3 separate regions of the Homo sapiens genome follow, and regions 2 and 3 are each linked to region 1. Evidence: promoter capture Hi-C in human tissues and cell types (Jung and others, 2019). All regions are on one chromosome and are shown on one strand. The core of a region is centred on a gene start or on the middle of the fragment in contact, and the rest is flanking DNA. Distances in the headings are between cores, read along the strand shown. Region 1 holds the start of RBP7 (retinol binding protein 7). Region 2 overlaps UBE4B (ubiquitination factor E4B). Region 3 overlaps UBE4B (ubiquitination factor E4B).

What was found. Contacts are between HindIII fragments. The study calls those that stand out against the background at their distance.
Region 2: a fragment that was not itself captured here is called in contact with the fragment with the promoter of RBP7 in region 1 in 2 of the 25 tissues and cell types used here (H1 embryonic stem cells and aorta).
Region 3: a fragment that was not itself captured here is called in contact with the fragment with the promoter of RBP7 in region 1 in 2 of the 25 tissues and cell types used here (IMR-90 fibroblasts and pancreas).

What each region holds. Positions count from the first base shown.
Region 1 is chr1:9,994,132-9,998,932 of GRCh38, forward strand. RBP7 (retinol binding protein 7) reads left to right here and starts at 3,097. Exons shown (of 4, transcript NM_052960.3): 1 at 3,097-3,200. The coding sequence starts at 3,128. It overlaps LOC124903840 (basic salivary proline-rich protein 2-like), which reads right to left and starts at 3,958. Exons shown (of 2, transcript XM_047436754.1): 1 at 3,551-3,958; 2 at 2,588-2,721. The coding sequence starts at 3,899. The coding sequence ends at 2,588. It also overlaps a transcript of NMNAT1 not described here. The HindIII fragment of the contact is 9,171 bases long and covers 381-4,801 here.
Region 2 is chr1:10,071,444-10,075,896 of GRCh38, forward strand. It overlaps UBE4B (ubiquitination factor E4B), which reads left to right. Exons shown (of 28, transcript NM_001105562.3): 2 at 585-771. Among named protein-coding and RNA genes, the nearest start is that of UBE4B, 41 kb to the left of the region's middle. The HindIII fragment of the contact is 3,592 bases long and covers 1-3,119 here.
Region 3 is chr1:10,106,219-10,110,467 of GRCh38, forward strand. It overlaps UBE4B (ubiquitination factor E4B), which reads left to right. Exons shown (of 28, transcript NM_001105562.3): 7 at 1-365. Among named protein-coding and RNA genes, the nearest start is that of UBE4B, 75 kb to the left of the region's middle. RefSeq lists an enhancer at 2,506-3,006. The HindIII fragment of the contact is 4,865 bases long and covers 1-3,834 here.

The sequences.
Region 1 (4,801 bases), core at 1,847-4,346:
CAACAGAATCACTCCGTCTCCCAGGCTGGAGTGCAATGGTACAATCTCTGCTCACTGCAACCTCTGCCTCCCGGGTTCAAGTGATTCTCCTGCCTCAGCCTCTCCAGGAGCTGAGACTACAGACGTGTGCCACCACACCTGACTAACTTTTGTATTTTTTTAGTAGAGACGGGGTTTCACCATGTTAGCCAGGCTTGTCTCAAACTCCTGACCTCAGGCAATCCACCCATCTCAGCCTCCCAAAGTGCTGGGATTACGAACGTGAGCCACTGTCCCCAGCCAAATGTTAGCTTTTATTTTTTATTTTATTATTTTTGAGACAGAGTTTGGCTCGTGTTGCCCAGGCTGGAGTGCAATGGCACGGTCTTGGCTCACTGCAACCTCTGCCTCCTGGGTTCAAGCGATTCTCCTGCCTCAGCCTCCCACGTAGCTGGGATTACAGGTGCCCGCCACCATGCCTGGCTAATTTTTTGTATTTTTTGTATTTTTTTTTTTTTTTGAGACGGAGTCTTGCTCTGTCCCCCAGGCTGGAGTGCAATGGCGCGATCTCGGCTCACTGCAAGCTCCGCCTCCTGGGTTCACGCATTCTCCTGCCTCAGCCTCCCGAGTAGCTGGGACTACAGGTGCCCGCCACCACGCCCGGCTAATTTTTTTGTATTTTTAGTAGAGACAGGGTTTCACCATGTTAGCCAGGAAGGTCTTGATCTCCTGACCTCGTGATCTGCCCGCCTCAGCCTCCCAAAGTGCTGGGATTACAGGCTTGAGCCACTGCGCCTGTCCAATTTTTTGTATTTTTAGTAGAGATGGGGTTTCACCATGTTGACCAGGCTGGTCTCAAACTCCTGACCTCAGGTGATCCACCCACCTCGGTCTCCCAAAGTGCTGGGATTACAGGTGTGAGCTACCATGCACGGACTGCTAGCTTTTATTATATTTGAGTCTGGAACTCATGGGAGAGGTCATAAATTGACATATAAATCTTGAGCTGGACACAGTGGCTTACACCTGTAATCCCAGCACTTTGGGAGGCCAAGGTTGGAGGGTTGCTTGAGCCTAGGAGTTTGAGACCAACCGCCGGCAACACAGGGATACTCCATCTCTATAAAAAATTAAAAAAATTAGTCAGGCATGGTGGCACATGCCTGTAGTTGTAGCTACTTAGAAGGCTGAGGCAGGAAGATCACTTGAACTCAGGAGGTTGAGGCTACAGTGAACCATGATCATACCACTGCACTCCAGCCTAGGCAACAGAGCAAGACTCTATCTCAAAAAATAGTCAGTCTGGGTGTGGTGGCTCATGCCTGTAATTCCAGCACTTTGGGAAGCTTAGGTGGGTGGATCTTTTAAGGTTGGGAGTTCGAGACCTACCTGGCCAACATGGTGAAACTCCACCTCTTCTAAAATATATAAAAATTAGCCAGGCATGGTGGCAGGTACCTGTAATCCCAGCTACTCAGGAGGCTGAGGCAGGAGAGTTGCTTGAACCCAAGAGGCGGAGGTTGCAGTGAGCCAAGATTGCACCATTGCACTCCAGCCTAGGCGACAGAGTGAGAGTCTGTCTCAAAAAATAAAATAGAATAAAATAAAATAAAAAGAATAAATGAAAAAATAAATACCGCGGGTGCGGTGGCTCACACCTATAATCCCAGCACTTTGGGAGGCTGAGGCAGGCGAATCACGAGGTCAGGAGCTCAAGACCAGCCTAGCCAACATGATGAAACCCCCATCTCCACTAAAAATACAAAAAATTAGTTGGGCATGGTGATGGGCACCTGTGATCCCAGCTACTCGGGAGGCTGAGGCAGGAGAATCACTTGAACCTGGGAGGCGGAGGTTGCAGTGAGCCGAGATGGAACCACTGCCCTCCAGCCCGGGGCGATAGAGTGAGACTCCCTCTCTGCCGGGCGCAGTGGCTCAGGCCTGTAATCCCAGCACTTTGGGAGGCCAAGGCGGGCGGATCACAAGGTCATGAGATCGAGACCATCCTGGCTAACACGGTGAAACCCCGTCTCTAATAAAAATATAAAAAGTTAGCCGGGCGTGTTGGCGGGCGCCTGTAGTCCCAGCTACTCGGGAGGCTGAGGCAGGAGAATGGCGTGAACCCCGGAGGCGGAGCTTGCAGTGAGCCGAGATCTCTCCACTGCACTCCAGCCTGGGCACAGAGCGAGACTCCGTCTCAAAAAAAAAAAAAAAAAGAAAAAAGAAAGAGTGAGACTCTGTCTCAAAAGAAAAAAAATAAAAATAAAATCAATAAGTCAGTCTTGGAGCCAGCATATCTAGGCGGTGTTTGTGGCTAATGTTGTAGGTTAGCCCATATTCCCACCCCTTCTCCTTTGCTTTTCTCTGCTCTGAGGCTAAATGCTGCAGACTAGAATCCCCAGGCCCCCTTGCAGTTAGAAGTGGCATTGATACAGTTTTGGCTAATGAAATGTACACAGAAACCTGCTGGGTAATTTCTTTTCTTTTTTCCAACTATCCAGACTTATAGGAGATGGGGAGGTTTGTGCTGCAGGGATACTGACCTTTGGTGCTTTCCCTCTTCCCTACCTTGAATGTGGATGTCCTGGCTGGGAACCCAGCTGCCAGCTCATGACCAGGAGGTAACAAGCAGGAATAAAAGGCCACCAGAGTCACAGAGACGAAGCTGCGGCGTTACCGAGGTGCGAATCACTGTGATTCCTAGGTGCGAATCATCACCAGCAATCACTTCTCTCAGGACTCCTTGTTAAGAAAAATAAACTCCTATTTATTGAGACCATGAGAGTTACGTTGAGAGGTATATTGTTATTGAAGCTGACAATATTCAATGCCATGAGTTTGAAGATCATCCCTGGGTCATTAACATATAAGCAGGGAAGAAAATGTGGCCCGAAACAGTCTGGGACATGAGAAAGCAGTAGGAGAGGAAGCCCCAAGGAAAGGGGGAAGCTGCCGCGCGGTGGGCAGAGCCAGGAGCACCGGGCTGAGGCGGCCGGGAGCGCAGCGGCTTCTAGGGGTGAGTGGGACCCACGCGGCCCCACCTGCTCCTCCCGCGCGCGGCCCCACCCCCCTGCCCCGCCCCGCCTGGTTTATAGGTCCCGGCCCGAGCCTCCGGCCGCCCGCCGGGTTTGTCCCGCGATCCCCGACCATGCCCGCCGACCTCAGCGGTACTTGGACCCTGCTCAGCAGCGACAACTTCGAGGGCTACATGCTGGCCCTAGGTAAGGCGGAGGGGAGGCGGCGGCGGCGCGAGGCTCGCCGTGGGTCTCGGGATCAGGCGAAGGCGGCCGGGCCGGGCCTGTAGGTACGTCCTCTGTCCGTGCCTCCGCCCTGCTGCGCCCACCGTCGCCCAGTCGCCCCCGAGTCCGCTGGTCCTTGGCGCCTCCGTCCATCGGGCGCGGGACCCCAGTCCTTCAGTCCCCCAGTCCGTCCTTTCCCGCGCCCACCCGCCCCCCTGTCCCCACGGCCGTCTCTCCACGCCCTCTGTTCCCCCGGCCGTCGGTCCCCCACCCGTCCGTCCCTGAGTGCCCGCGTCCAGCCCCACGTCCGTCTCTACCCGCACGCGGCACACCTGCGGAGACTGCAGACTCGGGGTCCGGCCGGGGAGGGGGGTCCGGCCGGGGAGGGGGCGCCCGGGACCGAAGCCTCTGCCCGGCCACCCTCCCCGCAGCCGCCTTCCGTGCAGGCCCCGGGGCCCCGGGCGCGCTCCCGCAGCGAAGTCCCAGCAGCCTCGGCGCACCCGGAGCGGGTCGGGGATGCAGAATCCTGGAGCCAGCGGACGACCCTTCAGGTCCGGGCACCCGCGGGAGTGCAGAGCCTGGTTCGGCCCGGGGCGTGCCCCGACCGCCGCCTCCCACGAGGGCTGGGTGCCCGCGGCGTTCTTGCTCCCGGGGGCCCCGCGCTGTGCTTCCCGCCCTCATCGCGGTGCCAACGGTGCGCGGACTCTCAACTCACTGCAACCTCCGCCTCCTCGGTTCAAGCGATTCTCCTGCCACAGCCTTCCAAGTAGCTGGGATTACACGCGTGCGCCAGCCACCACGTCCGGCTAATTTTGTACTTTTAGTAGAGAAGGGGTTTCACTATATTGGTCAGGCTGGTGTCCAACTCCTGACCTCAGGTGATCCACCCGCCTTGGCCTCCCAAAGTGCTGGGATTACAGGTGTGAGCCACGCGCCCTGCCACGAGTGTAGTTTTTCTTGTAGCTTTAGGAATCTGGGAAGTTGCCGTGCCGGCCAATCCCTGAACCCTTGACCCGTGGGCAATTTTTGTTTTCTTTTTTTCTTTCTTTCTTTCTTTCTTTTTTTTTTTTTTTTTTGAGACGGAGTCTCGCTCTGTTGCCCAGGCTGGAGTGCAGTAGTACGATCTCGGCTCACTGCAAGCTCCGCCTACCGGGTTCACGCCATTTTCCTGCCTCAGCCTCTCCGAGTAGCTGGGACTATAGGCGCCCGCCACCACGCCCAGCTAATTTTTGTATTTTTTAGTAGAAACGGGGTTTCACCATGTTGGCCAGGCTGGTCTCGAACATCTGCCCTCGTGATCTGCCCACCTTGGCCTCCCAAAGTGCTGGGATTACAGGCGTGAGGCACCGCACCGGCCAATTTTTGTTTTCTTAACCTTAGGGCCCATCTTAGTTGATAAAGGGGCATTTATTTTGCTCTTTCATATCCCAAGAGATAAGAGTGTTCCTCTGGGTATGGGAAAAGCACCTCTCACTTGAGAGTCTTATGATCTTCTTCAGAGGAAGAGCAGAGAATTCTTTTATGGCCTGCTTCAGGGAAGAGGGGCAAAAGAAGGTCTGAGGGGGACCTTCCTGCTACTGTTA
Region 2 (4,453 bases), core at 74-2,573, 76 kb after region 1:
TGGACATGGTGGTTTGCACCTGTAGTGTTAGATACTTAGGAGGCCGAGGTGGGAAGATTACTTGAGCCCAGGAGTTCAAGGCTGCAGTGAGCTATGATTGAAATACTGCACTCCAGCTTGGGTGACAGAGAGACTCTCTCTAAAATGAAGTGTAATATGCTTACCGTAAATTCGCCATGTCAGCCAAGGAGGTGTGATAAACAGAGATGGTAAGGGAACTAACATACAGTATATACGTATTTATGTATGTATTTATGTATGTATGAATTAGAGGTGGGTTGTCACTGCTTTGCTCAGGCTGGTCTTGAACTCCTAGGCTCAAGCGATTACCCCCACCTCACCCTCCCAAGTAGCTGAGACTATAGGCAGGCACCGCTGAACCTGGCCAAAATACAGTTGTTAAAAACTCAAGTGATAGAGCTTGTAGGAATACTGGTAGAGCGAGTTATTCTCTCAGAAGAGTACTTTTGCTGAAGGCATATTGAGTTGTTAAACTCTGGTTTGGTTATGAATAATGTCATTCTCTGGCAGAATTGTGTTTCTGCTGATTAGTTATAGAATGCCCTTTTCCCCTCATGTTGTAGATTCGACGGAGGCGCCTTGCACGACTTGCTGGTGGACAGACCTCTCAGCCAACCACCCCACTCACCTCTCCCCAGAGGGAGAACCCTCCGGGGCCTCCCATAGCGGCATCAGCCCCAGGACCCTCTCAGAGTCTTGGTCTCAATGTCCACAACATGACCCCAGCTACCTCCCCAATAGGTGCATCAGGTAAGCCCAAGCTTCATACCTGGGACTCTTTTGTAATTCTTCTTAGCTTTTTGTTAAGCTGATGGTTGTGATGTTTCCAGAACAGATTAAAATGAAGCAGACATCAGCTCTTTAAAATCCTCCAAGCAGTAGTTTAAATATCATTGCAATGTGTTGTGTTATCGCTTTTTTTTTTATTGCAATCTGTTAAACCAATTGCTTTTCTTTCCATAACTTCCATCTTTTTTTTTTTCAAACAGGTTTAGGTATTATCTCTGATGACAAGATGATTAAGACTGAATTTGGTTCTGCTGATTTTATGAATTTGGTTGATGGTTTTAAGATAAAATAATCTGAAAATGCAAGATTAAAATAATGGTCAAAATGAACACCTCTAATTGCAGATTTCCTCGTCTTCATTCTGCATTGGCACAGAACTTTTTCTTTAACTTTTCAGAGGATAAAACTACCTGATAGGATGTTTAGAACTATCTCATTAAAAAGTAAAAGTTTATTTCTTTATAATAAATGAGCTGATGCTTGATATCCAGGACTGTCTTTGTTGGGAAATGATATTTCTCATACTGTGTATTTGAAAATATCTCTCTTTTGTCTGTGAACTTTTCTATCAAATATAGTATTATTGTCATATAATAATAATTACTATTTTATAATTAGGATTCTAGTTGCGTAAAGGGGGTGCTAAGAGAACTGCATTGATCATAATATCATCTAATAATTTGATAGCCTTCTGAATCATCTGTCTTCTTGATCTAGAATCGTGTCAATTAAAAGTATTTGCAGAGTTTTTGTTGCTGTACTTCTCGTTAGGTATCAGTGTAGACTATAGATATATATAAATGTTTATACCTAATGTGGTTCAACCAAAACATCTGTTAGTAATAAAGAAGATCCTTGCCTATAATGTTTCCTCTGTATGTCTCTGAGAAGCTCTGATGGTCTTCTGGTAGGATTGATGGGTTCAGGATTCCAAATGTGATTTTCCTTGGACACAGTACTGACAACAGTGCTCTTTGCCTCACCCTGGTCAGGCCATACCTGGAATGCTGGAATCTGTCCTGGAGAGAACCTCTCTCACTTTGTCTTACTTGCTTATTTAAACCAGGATCTTGGTTAAATCCCATTCCCCACCTACACTGGAATAAGGCTATAGAAAAACTCAGAACCATTTGAACTAATTGAAAACTTTTGAAATGTCTGTCTCATTTCGAATTCATGATTACATGGCTGGGTGTGGTTGCTCATGCCTGTAATCCCAGCACTTTGGGAAGCCAAGGTGGGTGGATCAGTTGAGGTCAGGAGTTTGAGATCAGCCTAGCCAACATGGTGAAAGCCCGTCTCACAAAAAAAATACAAAAAGCCGGGTGTGGTGCTACCTGCCTGTAATTCCAACTACAAGAGAGGCTGAGGCATGAGAATTGCTTAAACCCGGGAGGTGGAGGTTGCAATGAGCCAAGATTGCGCTACTGCACTCCAACCTGGTGATGGCGTGAGATTCTGTCTCAAAAACAACAACAACAACAACAACAACATCAAATTCATGATCACAAACTCGGGTAGACCCTTGATACTGGCAGGCTGTTGCACCATGCTTCCCAGTTCACTCACTCTGCTGATCTGTTTCATACCTTCTCGAGTGTGCAGTACCTCATTCTCCATGCTCACTCTCTCAGCTAGTGGCCTGGCTTCCCATTTCTTTCTTTCTATTTTTTTTTTTTTTTTTTTTTTTTGGAGATGAGGTCTCACTGGGTTGCCCAGGCTGGAGCATGGTGGCTGTTCATAGGCGTGATCCTAGTGCACTACAGCTTAAAACTCCCAGGCTCAGATGATCCGTCTGCTTCAGTCTCTCATGTAGCTGGGACTATAGGCATGTGCCACCACACCTAACTCTGGCCTCATATTTCATTGAGAAAACAGATGCAGGCAGAACCTAGGCAGGGAACCTCCATCAGCCTCAGTCATCACATCCATCTGCCTACCTGTATGTGCGCCTGGTTCTTGTTATGCACAAATTGTCCCTGCTGCTGTTGAAGCTTGGACCCTAGATCCCATCTCCCTTCAGTTACTCAGCCTTCACTCCAGCAGTTCCTTTCTCTCTCTTGCTTCATCAGATTTTCCATCTCATATGGCCTTTTTTTTTTTAACAGCCTATATAATGCCATTACTTTTCCCATCATGGGAATGAACAAAAGGAACTCTCTTGATCTAATTCCCCCTGCCAGCTTCTCCCCCACATCTCTGCACCAAAACCTTTGCAGCAGAACTTCCGGAATGAGTTGCCTGTCCTCTCCATCCCCTTCTGCCCTTGCACTCTTTGCTGAATCAACTGCAGTCAGGCGAGGGTTCCCGTGGTTGCTCTGTGGTTGCTCTGAGTCACTGTCTGGTCTGACCCATCAGCCTCATTAGACATGGCTTTCACCCACTTCTCCTGGAAACACGTTTTTCTTTTGGCTTCCAGAACAGCACATTCTCCTGGTTTTCATGCATTCTCTGTATCTGTTCCTTCTTCACTCTTTGCCTGGTTCCTTTTCATTTCCCTGACTTCTAAATGTTAGGATTCAAGGGCTCAATATTTAACCTCTTGTCCTTTCCATCCAGCTTTATTCTCTTACTGTTGTCATCCAGTGTCCTGGCTTTAATTACCCTCATTTGATGATTCCTAAGCTTTTATCTCCAACGTGGACCTGCTCCTTGAACCTCAGATTGACACATCCAGCGCTTTACCTGACATCTCTGCTTGGATGTCTAACAGGCATGTCACAGCTAGCATGCCCCAAATCAAGCTTTGCTGTTGCCTCACATTTTATCTTCTCCCAGGTTTCCATCTCAATAAATGACAATTCATGTTTTCTAGACCTGGATTGGCAAACTCTTTCTGTTAAGGGCCAGATAGTAAATATTTTTGGCTTTGGAGGCTGTGAGGTTAGAACTGTTTATCTCTGCTTCTGTAGCACAAAAGCAGCCATAGAACATATGTAAATGAGCAAGTGTAACTGTGTTCCAGTAAAACTTCACTTACAAAAACAGGCAGTAGCCCAGATTTGGCCTGTGGACTAGAGCTTGCTTGGCCCTGCTCTAGACCTGTCAGAAAACTAGAAGCAGACCAGATTCTCACCACCTGTTTCTTCTCATCACCTCCACCGCTATTACCCAGGTCCAAGGCACCAGCATCTCTTGCCTGGATTTCTGGAACAGCCTCCTAACTGGTCATCTCATGCCCACCCTTGCTTCACTTGAGTCTGTTCTCAGTGTAGAGCCAGAGGGGCCCCACTAAAGCATAAGTGCAACACTGTGTAACAGCCCATATGCTGTTATCACAAACTAACAGAAAGGCTTGGGCATTCCCTAAACGGTTAGTTCTTGCCCGGGTACCTCTATGCTAAGTAGTCCTGATTATGTTTCTCACATAGTCATCATTATTCATAATCACAAACAGTTGGATATTATTAGCCATACTTTGGTGGGTTGAATAAACAGATTTTCATGATTTCCTAAATAAGTGAAAAAACAAACAGAAAATCTCTCTTAAGACAGGTTACATCTATTCTCTGTTCAGGCCAGGTGCAGTGGCTCATGCCTGTAATCATAATACTTTGGGAAGCCAAGGTGGGAGGATCCCTTGAGCCTAGGAGTTCGAGACCAGCCTGGGCGACATAGCAAAACCCCGTCTCTACAAAAAATT
Region 3 (4,249 bases), core at 152-2,651, 110 kb after region 1:
CCCACTCCCAGTTTCTGGAGCTCTGTTCCCGTGATGGGCCCGTCTCTTGCCTCACCTTCCCGTGCAGCCAGCCAGTTGGCTGTGCCTTCCACTCCCCTCAGTCCTCACAGTGCAGCCTCTGGAACTGCTGCGGGAAGCCAGCCTTCATCCCCGCGGTATCGCCCCTACACTGTCACTCACCCATGGGCGTCCTCAGGCGTCTCCATTCTGTCGAGCTCCCCAAGTCCCCCTGCCCTCGCCAGTAGCCCCCAAGCAGTGCCCGCCAGCAGTTCCAGACAGAGGCCCAGCAGCACGGGTCCACCCCTACCACCCGCCTCACCCAGTGCCACGAGCAGACGCCCCTCCTCCCTGAGGATCTCTCCTAGGTATTTATCCCACAGGAGAGTTGCATGTGTGTTTGCGGTGCAGGGAAAGGAGATTAACACGGTTTGGAAGAAGTGCTGTGTGACACTGACTCTGTTAAATTGTTGTTTTGGGTTATTAACCTGTGTGGCTAACTAGTTTGGTAGGCACGTACTCTGAGTCCATGCTTCTGCCAGGCTCTAATCATGCTGGAAAGTTTGGGTTGCTCTATTCTATTGTGAATCCCTTTCTTCCCTTTGAGAGTTGGGGCACACAGGAACCCTTTTTGGCCTTTTGTCCTGTTGCCAGTGGTAGTTGAAATGCTATCAGACCAAGCAGGTGTGGGAGCAAATCTGGGCCTGGTGTTTTTTACTTCTGGTGAGTGGGGTGGGTCGGTTCATGTCCTGACGTGTTGAGTTTTAGTTATATGTAAGTTCAGTCTCTTAGAAGGAAGCAGTATCAGAATTCCACTAATCCAGTGGCCCCTTCTCTCAAATGTACCTGTATGTGTTTCTATAATTTAGGTGAATTATGTTTCTGCATGTCAGTGGCCAAAAGTTTTAGTGTATGGTTTATTTAAAAGGACAGCAGTTGCAAAAGCTTCTCCCCGTCTTGTTTTTTCTTTGTTCTCTGATGGCCTTTTTTGCTTTTGTTGTGGTAGTATGTACGACAATCCTTTCTCCTTCCTCTTCCTCGCACTTTCTGGGGACAGTAGTGATGAAGAAGATGAAGAAGAAGATGATGATGATGGTGATGGTGATGATGAAGGTGGTGGTGGTGGTGATGATTTTTCTTGTGTCCAGTTTGGGTCCAGGTATCAGAGGAATGGAGTCTTACCCCTGCATGTGCGTAGATGCTTAGGAACTAACTTCTATAAGCTCTAACAAGGGGCGTGCTTTGAATCCAGGCAGGATAGGGTCAAATGAGGTGGGCTCCAGAGTATATTGATGTGTTCAGACCTTCTCATGGGATAAAGTAGCACATAGGAGAATTTTCTTTTTTTCTTTCTTTCTTTCTTTTTTTTTTTTTTTTTTGAGGCAGAGTTCTGCTCTTGTTGCCCAGGCCGGAGTGCAATGGCGCAATCTCGGCTCACGGCAACTTCCTCCTCCTGGGTTCAAGTGATTCTCCTGCCTCAGACTCCCAAGTAGCTGGGATTACAGGCACCCGCCACCATGCCCGGCTAATTTTTGTATTTTTAGTAGAGACAGGGTTTTGCCAGGTTGGCCAGGCTGGTCTCGAACTCCTGACCTCAAGTGATCTGCCCGTCTTGGCCTCCCAAAATGTTGGGATTACAGGAGTGAGTCACTGTGTCTGGCCCCAGAATTTTCAGAGTTGTCGCCTGGCAAGTTTGGAGGAAAACTTTATGTATAATCATTTTTCAAAAGCATGAAAACAGATTAAAGATCAGTCATCAAGTTTATCCACCTTTAGATCTAAAATGAGGGACCCTTCATTTATCTATTGCGAGAATGTTATTGTGAACTACCAGATGTGACAACTTGTACTCTCTGAGGCATGTTTTCTTAAGTACAGTTGCATGAATTGCTGCTATTTAGTAACGGGAGAGGGGCTGGGATTTGGGGGAGGTGTGTGTGTGTGTGTGTGTGCGTGCGTGCTCCCTTCCCACCCCCTCCCAGCCTCCACCGCCCCCCTGTTCACCCCCATTGAGCTCAGTCTGGGCAATCCATCGAAGAACATATGAGGTCATACCATCTGCATAACTGTGACTTTGCTTTCATGTCTAGCCTTAAATTTCTCTTAGCACCTCCTGGACCTCAGTGAAGCCAGACCCCATTTGTTTAAAGAGCCTTTGAAATGACCGCAGAGGCTGAAACATAGTTCCGGATGTTGCTGAATGTTTACCCCTGGAAACCGAGTGAAAAGCACTACTTGGGTTGTGTAGGTGACTTTGAGCAAGAGAATATAATAGCACCTTCTTTCTAATCCTCTGACTCATTGTCTTACAATTTTGCTCTTAAATTGAAGTTTCCTGTGGACTGAGTTGGTGTTTGTGCCCAGCACTGTTCAAAAATAACTCCAGGCTATAAATAGAGACTGCAGTAGGAGTTAGGTACACTTCATTCAATTCGATGGTGTTCAGAAGAATCATTAGAGAATACGTAAAGAGACAGAGGAATGTTGATGCAAGGTTGAATATTGATTCAGGAAGGTTGATATTTGTATTACGCTGAACATTTTATCACCATTTCTCAAGTAAATTTCCCAAAGGTGAAAGTGTCTTTTTCACGTAGATAAAATCCTATTGCATGATTATAGTAATAAAGCAGGCATCCTTCCTAGGAACCAGTTTCCACATGGTAAAAGTGCTGTGTTACCTGTTTTACTGTAAATTTTCTGTGGGAGAAATTCTCTCTCCCTGGCCTATTTAGTTGTGACTTTCTCTAACAACCGTATCAGATTGTGTGCTGCTTTTACTAATACCTCTCTTTCTGGACTTCTAACACCCCAGCCTTGCCTCAGATCTAAATTCTCTCCCTACTAGGAGGAATAAAATGTACCAAGTGTATAAAAATAGCTGCAAATACTCATGGAGCATTGTGCGCCAGATGTGGTGTCAGCTCTGTCCATGTATCAGCCCCTTTACTCCTCGCTGTAGCCTGCTGTGAGGAAGTGGCAGGGGGAACGGGGGGGCCGGGGGGACAGACAAGAGGGTCAAAATCATAGAAATGCATTCAGACTTGAGCATCCTGAATCCAGACTCATGTTCACCACCGCACCGTGCTGCCACCCACTTTTCCATTTCTGCCCAAATAGGTCTTGTTTGTTCTTGTTCCTTACTACTGTTTTTGCTGCCGAGAGTCTGTGCATCTACTCGGTTCCTTTGGCAGGGAAGTGCCAGCATTTCACTCCTTAATTACAAAATGCCATCCCAGTCAGTTGATATGTCCCTTGTTGGCCGTTACAGTGAACTGTGATCATCCAGATTTTGGCAGCTTATAGGTTCTTAGTTGATATAAAAAAGAATGCCAAAGCATGGGTAAAAATACATGACATAACTATGTAAACAAGTAGAAGAACTTAGGGTTCTTCTAAGTAGGGTCAGAGCCAAGATGAGCTAGCAAAAAACCTTGTTACTTTTTTTTTTTTGAGACGGAGTCTTGCTTTGTCACCCAAGCTGGAGTGCAGTGGAGCGATCTCGGCTCACTGCAACCTCCACCTCCTGGGTTTAAGCAATTCTCGTGCCTCAGCCTCCCAAGTAGCTGGGATTACAGGTGCATGCCACCACACCTGGCTAATTTTTGTATTTTTAGCAGAGACAGGATTTCACCATGTTGGCCAGAGTGGTCTCAAACTCCACACCTCAGGTGATCTGCCCACCTCGGCCTCCCAGAGTCTCAAACTTCTGACCTCAGGTGGTCCGCCCACCTCGGCCTCCCAAATTGCTGGGATTACAGGCGTGAGCCACTGCGTCCAGCCAAAACCTTGTTACTTTGAGCAGTCAGCAAAGAAATAGTACTTTATCCTTCCCCCTTTCTCATTGATCTTCCCAGAATTTTTTTACTCTGAAGTAAGCAATTTTAACACTCACTTCTTGCCTGGTAAGACTAATGTCATAGAAGAAAGAATCATCAGGGGTTGGATCGCTCTCTCCATCTGCTGGCCCAGTGGATTCGATGTCTTATAAATCTTTTTGGAAGTAGTTGGGACATACATTTATATGTTAAGTATTTATAGGGGTGATGATAAGGATTAATTTTAAAAAGGTAAAACATTCCTTCTGTAATGTTTTGCAGACTTCTGAGAAAAGAACTGTTTGAGATATAAAGAACTGCTTTTTGCGCGAGTGGCATAAATGAGTGAAGTGAGAATTACCGTGTGTGAAAAGATAACTGTTGGGTGGTGGGCTTAATGCATGGGTGATGAAATAATCTGTACAGCAAACCTC